Regions from separate parts of the Homo sapiens genome. Here region 1 is linked to region 2. Evidence: promoter capture Hi-C in 16 types of primary human blood cells and fetal thymus (Javierre and others, 2016). All regions are on one chromosome and are shown on one strand. The core of a region is centred on a gene start or on the middle of the fragment in contact, and the rest is flanking DNA. Distances in the headings are between cores, read along the strand shown. Region 1 has its middle 20 kb from the start of EPM2AIP1. Region 2 holds the start of PDCD6IP (programmed cell death 6 interacting protein).

Region 1 (6,254 bases), core at 3,005-5,504, 3.2 Mb before region 2:
TTTGACTGATGATGTAGATGCTGTGCTGTGCCATGTGCCACTGTGCCCTTCTTCAGCACTGAAGGTCTTATTTTTATCTCTAAAAACAATATAAATAATTACAATCTTACGTAATTACAGTACCATTATCACACCTAATAATAATTCTTTGGTAAAAACTAATGCCTAGCCCATATTCAGATTTCCCTATTTGTTTTCAAAAATTACTTTTTACAATCGATTTCTTCAAATCTAGATCCAAACAAGGTCCACACATCATACTTGGCTATTGTGTCTCTTAAATTTCATTCAATCCAGAGGAGTCTCTTTGCCTACTTCCCATTTTTTTCCATGCTATTGTCTTGACCAAGAAACCAGCTCAGTTTTGTAGAACGTGGCCCACTCTAGATTTATCTGTTTTCTTCCTTTTTGTGCTGTTGAATTTGTTCTTCTGCTCTCCATATTTCATCCAATCGTAAAGGTAATTCTAAAGTCTTGATTAGATTCAGGTTTAACTGTTTTGGCTACTGAAAAGGTGGTGCTATGTACTCCTTATTGCTTTACATCAGAATCACAGACTATCTGGTCAGCCCTGTTTTAGTAATGCCGAGATTGGTCAGTGGTTTCAGGTGGTTACAGCCCAATCTTGCCACTGACAGGTTCCGTATAAGTGTTTCACCTGATATTTTTCATCCGTTGGTCATTGTTGTGTGGGTCTGTTGTTTCATTAGGACTTAAAATATAGTTATTTTTCTAACTTTATCATTCCCTCTACATTTATTAGCTGAAAGTTTTCTGTAAGATGGAACTTTTTCTAACTACAACTATTTGGTTACCTTGAAATATAGTGTGAAGCAAGCATGCAAAGGAGTCACTGACAAGATCAATGAGGAAATTTATTTTACTTTACTGCTGAATCTTCAGTGCCCAAACCAGTGCCTGGACCCAGGGGGACTTCATTAAAAAATTTTTGGCCAGGCATAGTGGCTCACACCTGGGAGGCCGAGGCGGGAGGATTGTCTGAGCTCAGGAGTTGGAGAACAGCTTGGGCAACATGGCGAGAGCCCATCTCTACAAAATGGAAAAAAGGAAAATTAGCTGGGCATGGTGGTGCACACCTATGGCCCTGGCTACTTGGGAGGCTGAGGTGGGAGTTTTGCTTGAGCTCAGGAGTTGGAGACCAGCCTGGGCAATATAGTGAGACCCCATCTCTACAAAACATTTAAAATCAGCCGAGTGTGGAGGCACACACCTGTAGTCCAAGCCACTTGGGAGGCTGAGGCAGGAGAATTGCTTAAGCCCAGGAGTTTGAGGGTGCAGTGAGCTGTGATTATGCCACTGTACTTCAGCCTGAGTGACAGAGCAAGACTCTGTCTCAGAAAAAAAAAAATTGTTGAAGGCTTCTTTCCCTTTAATTACTAATTTTCAGAGTTAGGAGTTAGCGTTTCTCTCCTCTTTTTTACTTGTGGGCTTTTAAATAAAACCTTTTATTTATAAACTTGTGGACTTTTATCTTCTTATTTATTTTGGTTTGCAGTCATTATTCTTTTTAGTGCTTATTGCTTATGTTGCCTCATCTTCGACTGGTGAGAGCTTGTTTTTTAATTTTTTTTTAAGGTATGAGGTCTCACTCTGTTGCCCAGGCTGGGGTGCAGTGGCTATTCACAGGCATGATCATAGTGCACCACAGCCTCAAGTGATCCTCCTGTCTCAGCCTCCCAAGATAGCTGGGACTACAGGCATGTGCCACCACACCTGATTTAAATGTACTTTTGACTTATGATATTTTCAACTTATGATGGGTTTATTAGGATGTAACCCCACCATAAGTCAAGGAGCATTTGTAGTTATCTGATATCTAGCCCTGAGAATGATTAGGACAGAGGAACATTGCCCTCTGGTGTGGAAGAGCCAGGTAAAGGAAGTGGTTTCGAGTATGGGCTCTGGATTGGTTGGTTTGCATAGGAATGGCATGCTTACAGGGGAGTGGTTTGATATTTCTAGGAATTAGCTAGTCCTAGGAGGGGAAGTCTCTTAGGTCAAAGAGGCACCTGATGCTAGAACATCAAGAAGACAGAAAGTAAGGAAATATAGTTAATACACATGGTACCTGCCATTTCTGAGCCCATGATTTCCTGGCAGGGAAACAGGCAAGTCTCAGCTCAGGTGTAGCTGACCATACTTGCAGATGTTCAGAGGACTCATTTCAGGAGCTTCCTATTAATAGGTCACTGGCTCTTTTTTAAGCATGAGCATGTCAAGGCTACCAGGTGACTTACTGGAGAATTCAGTCTTGGCTTTTGTGCTTGGCTTGGGTTTCTAGGGTTCCCATGTAACCAGGAAAGCCCACCAGCCCACTAATACTGTCGGATTAAGTACTACTCACACATAGCACCTGGTTGAGTCCCCTCTCATGGATCACATGCACCACAAACACAAATAAAAGCTTCAGCTTCCTTTTATGAAAGGAAAATAACTTGTTAGAATATGAAGCGAATGGTCTGAATGGTAAGTGATAGTGAGGGTTCTCTTATGGCCTATCTATTGTGACCTTTATCTGCTGCTCCTTCACCAACTATGCTTTATTGTTATCCTATCCCTTGAGCACAGGCTGAAAGACTGGCCATTAGTTATCTAACCTTATTCATCAGGCAGCCTACAAAACACCATTCTTAGTTGGAGTTCCAAATAGATCTTTGTTTGTCCCTGATCTTATAGCTGCTATAGAGAAGGTATATCTTTGTCCACCTGCTACCAAATGTTAATCATTATTAAAGCTTGTGGTGGGTACCTGGAGATCTCTCATCTTTTGTGTGTGTTTGAAAATTCCATATTAAAAAGGTTCGAAAAATGAATAAAGTTTACATCCAGTAGGATGGCTACCACCAACAAAACAGAAAATAAGTGTTGGTGAGGATATGGTGAAACTGGAACACTCATGTTCTCTTAGTGGGAACGTAAAACGGTACAGCCACTATAGAAAACAGTATGGCAGTCACTCATATTAAAAATAGAATTACATATAATCCAGCATTTCAACTTCTGGGTGTATACACAAAAAAGTGAAAGCAAGGACTTAAACATGTTCGCGGCAGCATTATTCACAATAGACAAAAGGTGGAAGCAACCCAAATGTTCATTGACAGATGAAATCGTTAATAAAATTTGGTATGTACATACAATGGAATATTATGTTGTAGCATATATCAAAATGTCTTTCCTTTTAAAAGCTGAGGGCACTATCCTAAGTGAAATAAGTCAGTCACAAAAAGACAAATACTGTTTGATTCCACCTATATAAGGTTATGTGCAGTAGTCAAATTCAGAAAGACAGAAAGTAGAATGGTGGTTGCCAGGGGCTGGGGGAGGGGGTAATGGAGATTTTTTGTTTTTAATTCTTTTTTCAAAATTTACTTTTTACTTTTTTCTTTTGTTAAAAAAAATTTTACTCTTAACACCACTCAATGAGAGATTACTGTTTAATAGATACAGAGTTCCAGTTTTGGGGTTTTTTGTTTGCTTGTTTGTTTGTTTTAGATAGGGCCTTGCTTTGTCACCCAGGGAGAGTACAATGGCACGCTCAAAGCTCACTGCAGCCTTGAACTCCTGGGCTCAAGTGACCCTCCCACCTCAGCTTCCTGAGTAGCTGGGACTACAGATGTGTATCACTATACTTGGCTATTTTTATTTTATTTTATTTTATTTCATTTCATTTATTTATTTATTTATTTTGAGATGGAGTCTCGCTCTGTCGCCCAGGCTGGAGTGCAGTGGCATGATCTCGGCTCACTGCAAGCTCCACCTCACGGGTTCATGCCATTCACCTGCCTCAGCCTCCTGAGTAGCTGGGACTACAGGCGCCCGCCACTACTCCCAGCTAATTTTTTTGTATTTTTAGTAGAGACGGGGTTTCACGTGTTAGCCAGGATGGTCTCAATCTCCTGACCTCGTGATCCGCCCGCCTCAGCCTCCCAAAGTGCTGGGATTACAGGCATGAGCCACCGCGCCCAGCTATTTTATTTTTCTGAGATAGAGTCTCACTCTGTTGCCCAGGCTGTAGTGCAGTGGCACGATCTTGGCTCACTGCAACCTCCGCCTCCCAGGTTCAAACGATTCTCCTGCTGCAGCCTCCAGAGTAACCGGGACTACAGGTGCGCGCCACCATGCCCAGGTAATTTTTTGTATTTTTAGTACAGATGGGGTTTCACCATGTTGGGCAGGCTGGTCTTGAACTCCTGAGCTCAGGCAATCTGCCCACCATGGCCTCCCAAAGTGCTGGGATTACAGGCATGAGCCATCGCGCCTGGTCTATTTTTATTTTGTTTTTATAGAGACGGTGTCTCACTATATTGCCCCAGCTGGTCTCAAACTCCTGGGCTGAAGCGATCCTCCTGCTTCGGCCTCTCAAAGTGCTGAGATTACAGTCGTGAGCCACCGCACCTGGTTCAGAGTTCCAGTTTTGCAAGATAAAAATAATTCTGCAGATGGATGGTGGTGATGGTTGTGCAACAATGTGAATGTGCTTCGTACCACTGCACTGTACAGTTAAAAACAGTTAAGACGGTTCATTTTATGTTATGTGTATTTTATCACAATTTTAAATAAAAGAATCAAGTTTAAGTACTCTATAAAATTAAGCATAAACCTATACCATACCTCAATAATTTCACTCCTAGGTATTTACACAAAAAAATCAAAACATATGTCCACAAAAATGTTCATCGTTCAAGAATGTTCATAGCAGCTTTATTCATTATAATCCAAAACTGGGAACAAACCAAATGTCTGTCAACAGGAAATGGGTAAACAAAATAGGCTCTATCCATACAATAGAGTACTAATCTGGAAGAAACGACTGATACACATAACAATATGGATAAATGTTAAAAACATTATTCTGAGGAAAATAAACCAGACACAAAAGGAAATATACTGGTTTTATGAAGATCAACAGCAGAAGAATCAAAACAATGGTGATAGAATCAGAGCAGTGAGGGTTGGGAGTGGAGATGGGAAGGCAGGGAGGCCAAGGGTTGGGGGCATGGGGGGGTGAACTGCTACTGACAGAAGGAACTTTCTGGGTCGATGTATGGTTTTTTTTGTTGTTTTTTGTTTTTTTGAGACGGAGTCTCTCTCTGTTGCCCAGGCTGGAGTGCAGTGGTGCTATCTCGGCTCAATGCAACCTCTGCCTCCCGGGTTCAAGCGATTTTCCTGCCTCAACCTCCTGAGTAGCTGGGACAACAGGCATGTGCCACCATGCCTGGCTAATTTTTTGTATTTTTAGTGGACAGCCAGGATGGTCTCGATCTCCTGACCTCATGATCCACCTGCCTTGGCCTCCCAAAGTGCTAGGATTACGGGCATGAGCCACTGCGCCCGGCTGATGTAAGTATTTATATCTTGACTGAGGTGTTGGTTCCACAGGTATACATATTTGCCAAAACTCATCAAACTGTATACTTAAGGTCTGTGAACTTACTATATGTTCTTTATACCTCAATATAATTAGTATTTAAAAAAAGAGAAAGTCCTCTCCCTGCTCTCCCCTCTTCCCCTGGGGTCAATGAAGCAAGTATGAAAAAACTAATGTGGTTTTGATATTATTCTGTGTTCTGTGATGCATATCATTTATAAAACAACAGAAGTTCATTTCTTGTGAACAGTTTGCTTATAATAAACCAAGGGCAACAGGTCACTGCTGACTGGCCTAGCTCCCTTAGCCAGCATCACAGATGACTAAGAGGGAAGTGAGAGATAGCAAGTGTAAGCTTCGTGCAGCATGACAGTATCAAACAGGAGCAAGAGACAGTTCAGGAAGGTGGGGGCATAGCTCATGAGGAAGGTTGCTTGGTGAGCGGCAGGCCTCTGCATTATCTTTGGTATCAGTGAAGAGCTGGTTTCCTTGGCAACAGGGGCCTACTTAATGAATGGTGCCTGCCAGGCAGCAGGCATGGACATGTCCATAGCAAGTGTACAATAGTGAAAGAAGATCTCTTCACCAAATATTCCCTTTTAGTCTACATACTGAGATCTGTTGATGGTTTAAGAACAATCAGAGAATGCTGAAAGACATAATAAAAAGCTTCAGTGCCATTACCCACTTCTCTTCTCCCCCATTCCTAGTAACAACCACTTGTAACCTTTTATCCTTCTCCTCCTCCCCCTCCTTCTCCACTCCTCCCACTCCTTCTCTCCTCCTCCTCCACCCCCCCCCCCCCGCCCACGCTCCCTCCCTCCCTCTCTTCCTTCCTTCCTTCTTCATTTTTTTAAATTTT
Region 2 (6,897 bases), core at 1,802-4,301:
ATAAAGGAAGAAGTATCATATAAAAGGGTTTTTTGTTGTTGTTGTTTTGTTTTGTTTTGAGACAGCGTCTCAGTATGTAGTTCAGGCTGGTCTCCAACTCGTGGGCTCTAGTGATCCTTCTGCCTCAGCTGGAATTATGAGTGCATGCTACCACACCCAGAACAAATGAGTTTTTAAGTACTCATTCTCATTATTATAATATGCATAAATGTATATTTTAGGAAATTTTAATAGAACACCTACAAGTTAGTAATAAGAAAACAAGTCTATCACTGGAGCAATATATGGAGCTGCATATCAGGACTTATCAAGCTGGCTTCAATTATTTAGGAATTAGTTTAAACTCTGTTTTTCAAAGTTCATTAGTTTAAAAAGTTCATTAAGTTAAAAAATTAATGTTAAGTTTACACAATTATCCAAACATAATTATTAAAAATAAGATATTCTGCCGGATTTGAATGAACATCACACAACTGATTCACATCTAATTTTACAGCGTATATACCTACAAAACTTTTGTACCTACCTCCATTATAAACTTTAGTAATATCTCCAAGCTTACCCTAACCCCTCTAGAAGCCCAAAAAGTGAAAATACTTAATATTTGTTGAATTAATGTGGCAGGAGGGGATTATACAGAGGTGACTAAAGAAACATGGTTAGTTTCAAAGAGACTATATCTACAACAGGTCCACTACCTAGGAACAGTTCACACATTTAAGTCTGGTAAAAAGAATAAAGGAAGGAACAAATGAATTAAGTTTTAAAGTTGACAGGAGAACCGTATCCAAACCATTATCCACCAACCTCCCATGTCTGTTAGCTTAAAACCCATGCACCAAGTGCTTCTGAAGACCCCAAATCTGAGGGCTGGAACCAAATTTGATATATTCAACAAGATTTTTATCACAGGGCTCATTATACCACAACTATGTTTTCTTAATATTACTAATGGAAAATCCTCACTGAATGCTATTCATGCCTACATAAAAATTACCTTGAAATTGTTTAATTATGTTAATTCTAAAGAATGGCTAAGTATTTCTAGGTTAACTTTAAAAAAAATGCTTATGCTATTAGACTAATGATCCTTGCAGCCCAACAGTTGTAGCTCTAAAATTTGACACCAAGGGGTCTTAATTCCTCTGAGCAATCTATTCAGTACCCCTTCCTTCGGAGAACCAACCCTTCCCCAGTCCGGACTCATCTTGCTTTGATCCATGGGGTAAGGAGAAATTAAACCGGCTGGATGACTCAGATAAGGGCAATTAACTTAGCCCATTTCCCACCATCATAAATGGGTGCAAACAAACCCAGGAGCCTCCCATGGACTTCCACCAGAGCTAAGGAGAAAAGCACTCCCTTCTGTAAGATACTGAGTGTTGCGGACGATTGTTATTACACTACAGCCATCCCTCTCAATACATGAACAAAGCTTTCGAGGGAAGCATCACGGAGGCAAGACGATCTCCAGTGATACCTAAAGCTAAGGAAGGAATATCCCTAGACTTTTCAGTTAGCAGAATAAGTCTTACTTTTTTTTTTTTTTTTTTTTTTTTTTGAGATGGAGTCTCACTCTGTCGCCCAGGCTGGAGTGCAGTGGCGCGATCTCGGCTCACTGCAAGCTCCGTCTCCCAGGTTCACACCATTCTCCTGCCTCAGCCTCCCGAGTAGCTGGGACTACAGGCACCCGCCACCACGCCCGGCTAATTTGTTGTATTTTTAGTAGAGATGGGGTTTCACCGTGCTAGCCAGGATGGTGTCGATCTCCTGACCTCGTGATCCGCCCGCCTCGGCCTCCCAAAGTGCTGGGATTACAGGCGTGAGCCACCGCGCCCGGCAGAATAAGTCTTTTCTTAGCTCAAGCTAGTTTAGCCTGGGTTTCTGCTACTTGGATTGGAATACAATTGTGATTCTCCTGTGAAACAAGTAGAATATACTATACGGAGAAAACGAGATTAACAAGGTATGCAAAAGAAATGTTTAACTATAAAATCGTAAAAAATGTTCTTATAACTATTAAGTATCATGAAAGGAACCCTCATTAAATCAGCATGAGCTAAATAAGCGTTTGCTAAAATAACAAATTTACTCTACTGTGTATATATCTGTTTGTGAACAAACTGCTTTTAAACAACCTACCTTGAACGGTTCAACTATGTAACTAGAGTTTTATTTCAAATAGTTGTAGCTCCTAACTTTCAGAATTCTCCATCTATCATTTGATTATTTTGAACTGAGGAAGACGGTCCATTTCATGTGGACAATGTGATGAGCTGATCAGACATTTGGTCCAGTGTCCCAATTCCCCCACTTCCCCCACTGCCTTCAAGCAACTACTATTATGAAATCAAAATGTGGCCCAAGAAAGACAGTGATGGAAAAATGGGGCGAAAGGGGAAGCTTCAGTTAGAGACCCAAAAAAGTGAAGACTAGTTCTAAGTAAATGTGGCAAAAGAGATCAGTACAGGGCAGACTGCTGCTCCCAGGTATCTGATCCACGGAGCCCTCGCCGACCAAGGGCTAGAGCAGACGTGCAGGCAGGACAAGCGGGCAGTCACAGCGGGCCTGCAGGGCGGGTCCTGCTCACCAGCAAAGAATGCAGACCACACCTACGCGCCTGGTCAGGCCGGGACGGGGCGGCTCCGCCCAGGTTACAGGATTGAAGGAAGGGGGGAGACGGGAAGAGGAGCGGCGAGCGACGGCTGGCAGACAACCTACCCACTCCCAGCCCCGCGCCCACCTCAGGAGCGTCTCGAGCGCGCCCTCGTGCTTGTCCAGCGGACGACCGACTGCGGCGCGGCGCAGCTTGCTGAGCTCCTCCGCCGCGCGGCAGTACTGGGCCTGCTCTTCCCCGCCGCTTGGGTAAGTCTGCTGGATGAACTTCACCAGCGGCTTGGCCAGGTCCACCTCTGAGGTCTTTTTCAGCTGCACCGAGATGAATGTCGCCATGATCAGCGCCTCCGCCGCCGTTCGGGCCAAACAGACCGCGGACAGCTTACGAGGGCCGAGGAGAGAGAGGTACTGGGCTGGCGGACTGGCGGACTGACTGGCTGACAGACTTGCGCTCCGCCTGCGTTCCGGGTCCGGCAACTTCCGGGAGCTCCAGCGCAGGCGCACTGGATGCGGGGTCCTTAAGCTGTCCGCGGTCACGTGAAGGTGTCGCGGCGGCTACGCCCACCTGGACCCAGTTTACCCTGTACTGTGCTGCAAAATATTACTTTCTCCCCATCTGGAATTCTTCCCTTCCTCCTTCCTGCCGCAGTGGTGTACTGAGCACTTTCACGTAAGAGTATTCCTCCACTCGAACAACCCCCCGGAGAAGTACTGGTGTCACTGCCACCTGCGAGAGTTTGCGGCTACCTCCCCAAGAGGCAGTCCCAGGGTTATTGTGACCTATGATGTTTATTCAACTACTGTTGACGGGCTGCTGTGCACAGGGAACCTAGTAGGCAAGACCCCTGCCATCGTGCAGCTTACTGTCAGGTTGACACAGACCTTAAGGTAAACGGAAAAAGTATCAGGAAAAAAACAGGGTGCTTGGGACTTAGGAGATGTTAAGATCGCTTGGAGGACCCTAATTTAAATAAGATAAAGTAGGTTTTCTCCGAGTAGGTTAACTGAAAATGAACCTGTGTCTCTGGTTGCTGTTTTGTAGAAAGAACAAAATTTTAAATAAATTAAAAACGACACCTGTAATTTGAGAAGATGCTTGATATCAGAAGAGGAGAAGAGTGGAGAGGGGTGGAGTGGCAAAGGAGAGCCTCCAAACCAAAAGCCTGCGGCAGAGGCCCTAGGAGGCAAGCACTTAACCATGTTTCAGGACTAGAAACGAAACATGTGACAAGACCTTTAAAAACAAATAGAATGGGATGGAATAAAGTTGGATGAGTAAGCAGGCATCAAATCATTCAGAAACTTGTTGTCCAAGTTGAAGAATTTGTTTAGTATTGTATAATAAATGCAGAGGAAGCTATATACACTTATAATTTACATTTTTTAAAGGCCACGTTGTAGCTCAATCGGATAGTTTGTCTTTTGATGGGATGTAGTATACAGTATCATCATGGTATATTCCAGGCAAAAATATTTAACTTGAATCTGTCAAGCCTTTGCATCTAACACAGTTTATAAAAAATACAACAGATAGATGAACAAACTAAATGATGCCAGAGGAAGTAACTAGACAGATCCAGAAGGTGAAACATTCTGCAGGATAACTGGCCCATCTCTTCAACAATTTGTCATGATAAAAGCAACTGCTTTATGAAAAGAAATTTAAGGGACATAACAGTTTGAATTGGATCCTGGTTTGAACAGACTGTCTATAAAATGCATTTTCAGGACCATTAAAGAAATATGAATGTAGATGGACTGAGTATTGGATAAAATAGAACTGTATTGCCATGGAAAAGATCATTAACTGAAAAGAGCAAGTCACGAAATAGTATGTTACAGCATCTCATTTTGGTTTAAAAATGCACATATATGTATTTATGTACAACTAAAAAAATAGTGGGCTTATACCCTAAGGTGTTAGTATTGGTAATCTTTGGAAGTGGAAATGTGTATTTTTTTCTTTGTGTTTGCCTATCTTTTTCATTGTAACTTTTGCAGCACATAGACTACTTTCATTATAGTAAAAGTTTATTTTACCACAATTTTTTTTTTTTTAGAAAGAGTCTCACTCTGTCACCCAGGCTGGAGTGCAGTGGCACAATCTCAGCCCACTGCAACCTCCACCTCCCAGGTTCAAGCTATTCTCCTGCCTCAGCCTTCTGAGTAGCTGGGACTACAGGTGCACACCACATGCCTGGCTAATTTTTGTATTTTTAATAGAGACTGGATTTCGCGATGTTGGCCCGGCTGGTCTCGAACTCCTGGCCTCAAGTGATCCACCCGCTTTAGCCTCCCAAAGTGCTGGGATTACAGGCGTGAGCCACTGCACCCGGCCTATTTTACCACAATTTATAAAAATTTTTGTTTATTTTAATTAAGCTATTCTATGTTAAAATAAGTAGCCACCCTTGGCTGATGCATAAAGAAAAAATTAGAGGAAGGAAAGAATGGAGGCAAGGAGGCAAATCATGAGACCATTTCAGAAATCAAGACGAAATCAGGAAAGCTAACATTAGCAAGAGTGAACCAAACTGATAATATCTTTGAGTTTAAAACTGAAGAATTTACCAATGAACTGCATAGGAAAGTAAAGAAAAGAGAGTGGTCAAGATAGGTCCTGGTTTTGGGGCCTGAACATCTGAGTGGTTAGTAGAATCATTACCAGTTGATAACCCATGGAAGAGGGTGGGGGATGGGTGGTGTCTTGTAGGTTGGTTGACAGGACTGACCCATTGGGAAGATAACGAAGAAGCAAAGTATATGAAAAGAGGAGAAAGGGTAACCAGAGGAGGGAGGATACAAAGGGAGTGATTAGCCATCAGAAAGATGAGGGACATGACATTTGTTGAGGCAGATGGCGGAGAAAAGAAAGTTAACATAGATGTGGTTAGTTTTGTGGCATTGACCAAAGGAAGATTAAGGTGATACTATCTGATGGCTTGGAATGAAAACCAAACTCCCTGCCACAACATGATGATCTTTCTCTGCAACTTCATATTTTGCCTCTTGTTCCTCATTTGTTACCACTGAGTCACAATGGTCTTTTTAGTTTCTCAAACACACCAAGATCTTTCTTGCCTCATGTGACCTAGAATGTTTTCTCCCTTTCTTCATATCTCAGTTGAAAGGTCTCCTCTCCTCATCATCATACTATCTAAAGTAGATTCCCTCCCTTGTTAACCTCTAGCGCAGCCATTAGTTCCTTCATAACACTTACCCTAACTTGCAAGTATTTTGTTTGTTGATATAATTTTTATCTGACTTCCCCACTAAAATGTAAGCTCCATGAGGGCAAAAATTGTGTGTTTTGTATACTGATGCATCTCTAGCACTTGGTATAGCAGGCATTCAATAAATATCATTAAATAAGTTTCACCCTTGTAAAAAAAAAAAATATATATATATAAAATATATTCTCTACTTCCAAAATAACACACTTTCACCAACAACAAGCACTCCAGCTAATTAGGCAATAGGCCAATAAGCAAAGAATTATGGTATATTAGTCAAGATTGGCTAGCTTATGTTCTGACAATAAACAATTTCAAAATCTCAGTTTCAATTTTAAACTCAAAGATACTAATAAACATTTGTTCTTTGCTCACACAAAGTCTAATATGGAACAGGCTTAGAGTTGTCCTCCAACCAGTGTCTGAGCAATCCAGACCACTTTGATCTTGTAACTCTGCCATCCCAACATGAGATTCCACTTTCACTGCAGAAGAGGAAATCTGTAGCATCATGCAGCAGCTTGTCACTACCTCAGCCCTCCTACTTCCACTTGCATTTCACTAGCTAGAACCTTTCACATGGCTCCACCAAACTGCAATGGGACTGGGAAGGGAGAATCAGATATTAGGGAGCATTTATAATGCCTTCCAAGGGTGTGTTTCACTGCTTCCAAACTTGCTTATGATGATGTTTTTCATTTATGTAATGAAATGCCATATGTTCTTAGTGTGTATTCTCAGCATAACGAGTACATTTGGAGAATATTAAGTCAGTGGACTTTCCTTCTTGAAAATTCCTGGTTCTGGGCCTATCATTAACCCCACTGATTGAACCAGTGGAAATAGTTGCCTCTTCGAATGGAGAGAACCCTGCTGAAGGCAGCTTTGAGTTTCAAAATAGTGTGTTTCAAGTCCACATGGAGACGATAGCCTGAAAGTAAGCACTTATGATTTTTGGAGGAGTCTTTGTTATTAAGGAGAAAAGAGGCTTACAGAAGTCAGATTCAGAAGACTGTAGTATTTTTACAATAAATGAGAGTAAACAGTA

What was found. Contacts are between HindIII fragments. The CHiCAGO score rates a contact against its expected background, and 5 or more counts as called.
Region 1: a contact is called between a fragment that was not itself captured here and the fragment with the promoter of PDCD6IP in region 2, in 2 of 17 cell types (M0 macrophages and M2 macrophages). The highest score is 11.0, in M0 macrophages.

What each region holds. Positions count from the first base shown.
Region 1 is chr3:36,969,637-36,975,890 of GRCh38, reverse strand. No RefSeq gene overlaps it. Among named protein-coding and RNA genes, the nearest start is that of EPM2AIP1, 20 kb to the left of the region's middle. RefSeq lists enhancers at 5,943-6,002, 6,093-6,142. The HindIII fragment of the contact is 2,991 bases long and covers 2,759-5,749 here.
Region 2 is chr3:33,794,784-33,801,680 of GRCh38, reverse strand. PDCD6IP (programmed cell death 6 interacting protein) reads right to left here and starts at 3,051. Exons shown (of 18, transcript NM_013374.6): 1 at 2,744-3,051. The coding sequence starts at 2,952. PDCD6IP-DT (PDCD6IP divergent transcript) reads left to right here and starts at 3,162. Exons shown (of 2, transcript NR_183731.1): 1 at 3,162-3,286; 2 at 3,659-6,897. RefSeq lists enhancers at 2,355-2,888, 2,835-3,184. The HindIII fragment of the contact is 5,708 bases long and covers 2,406-6,897 here.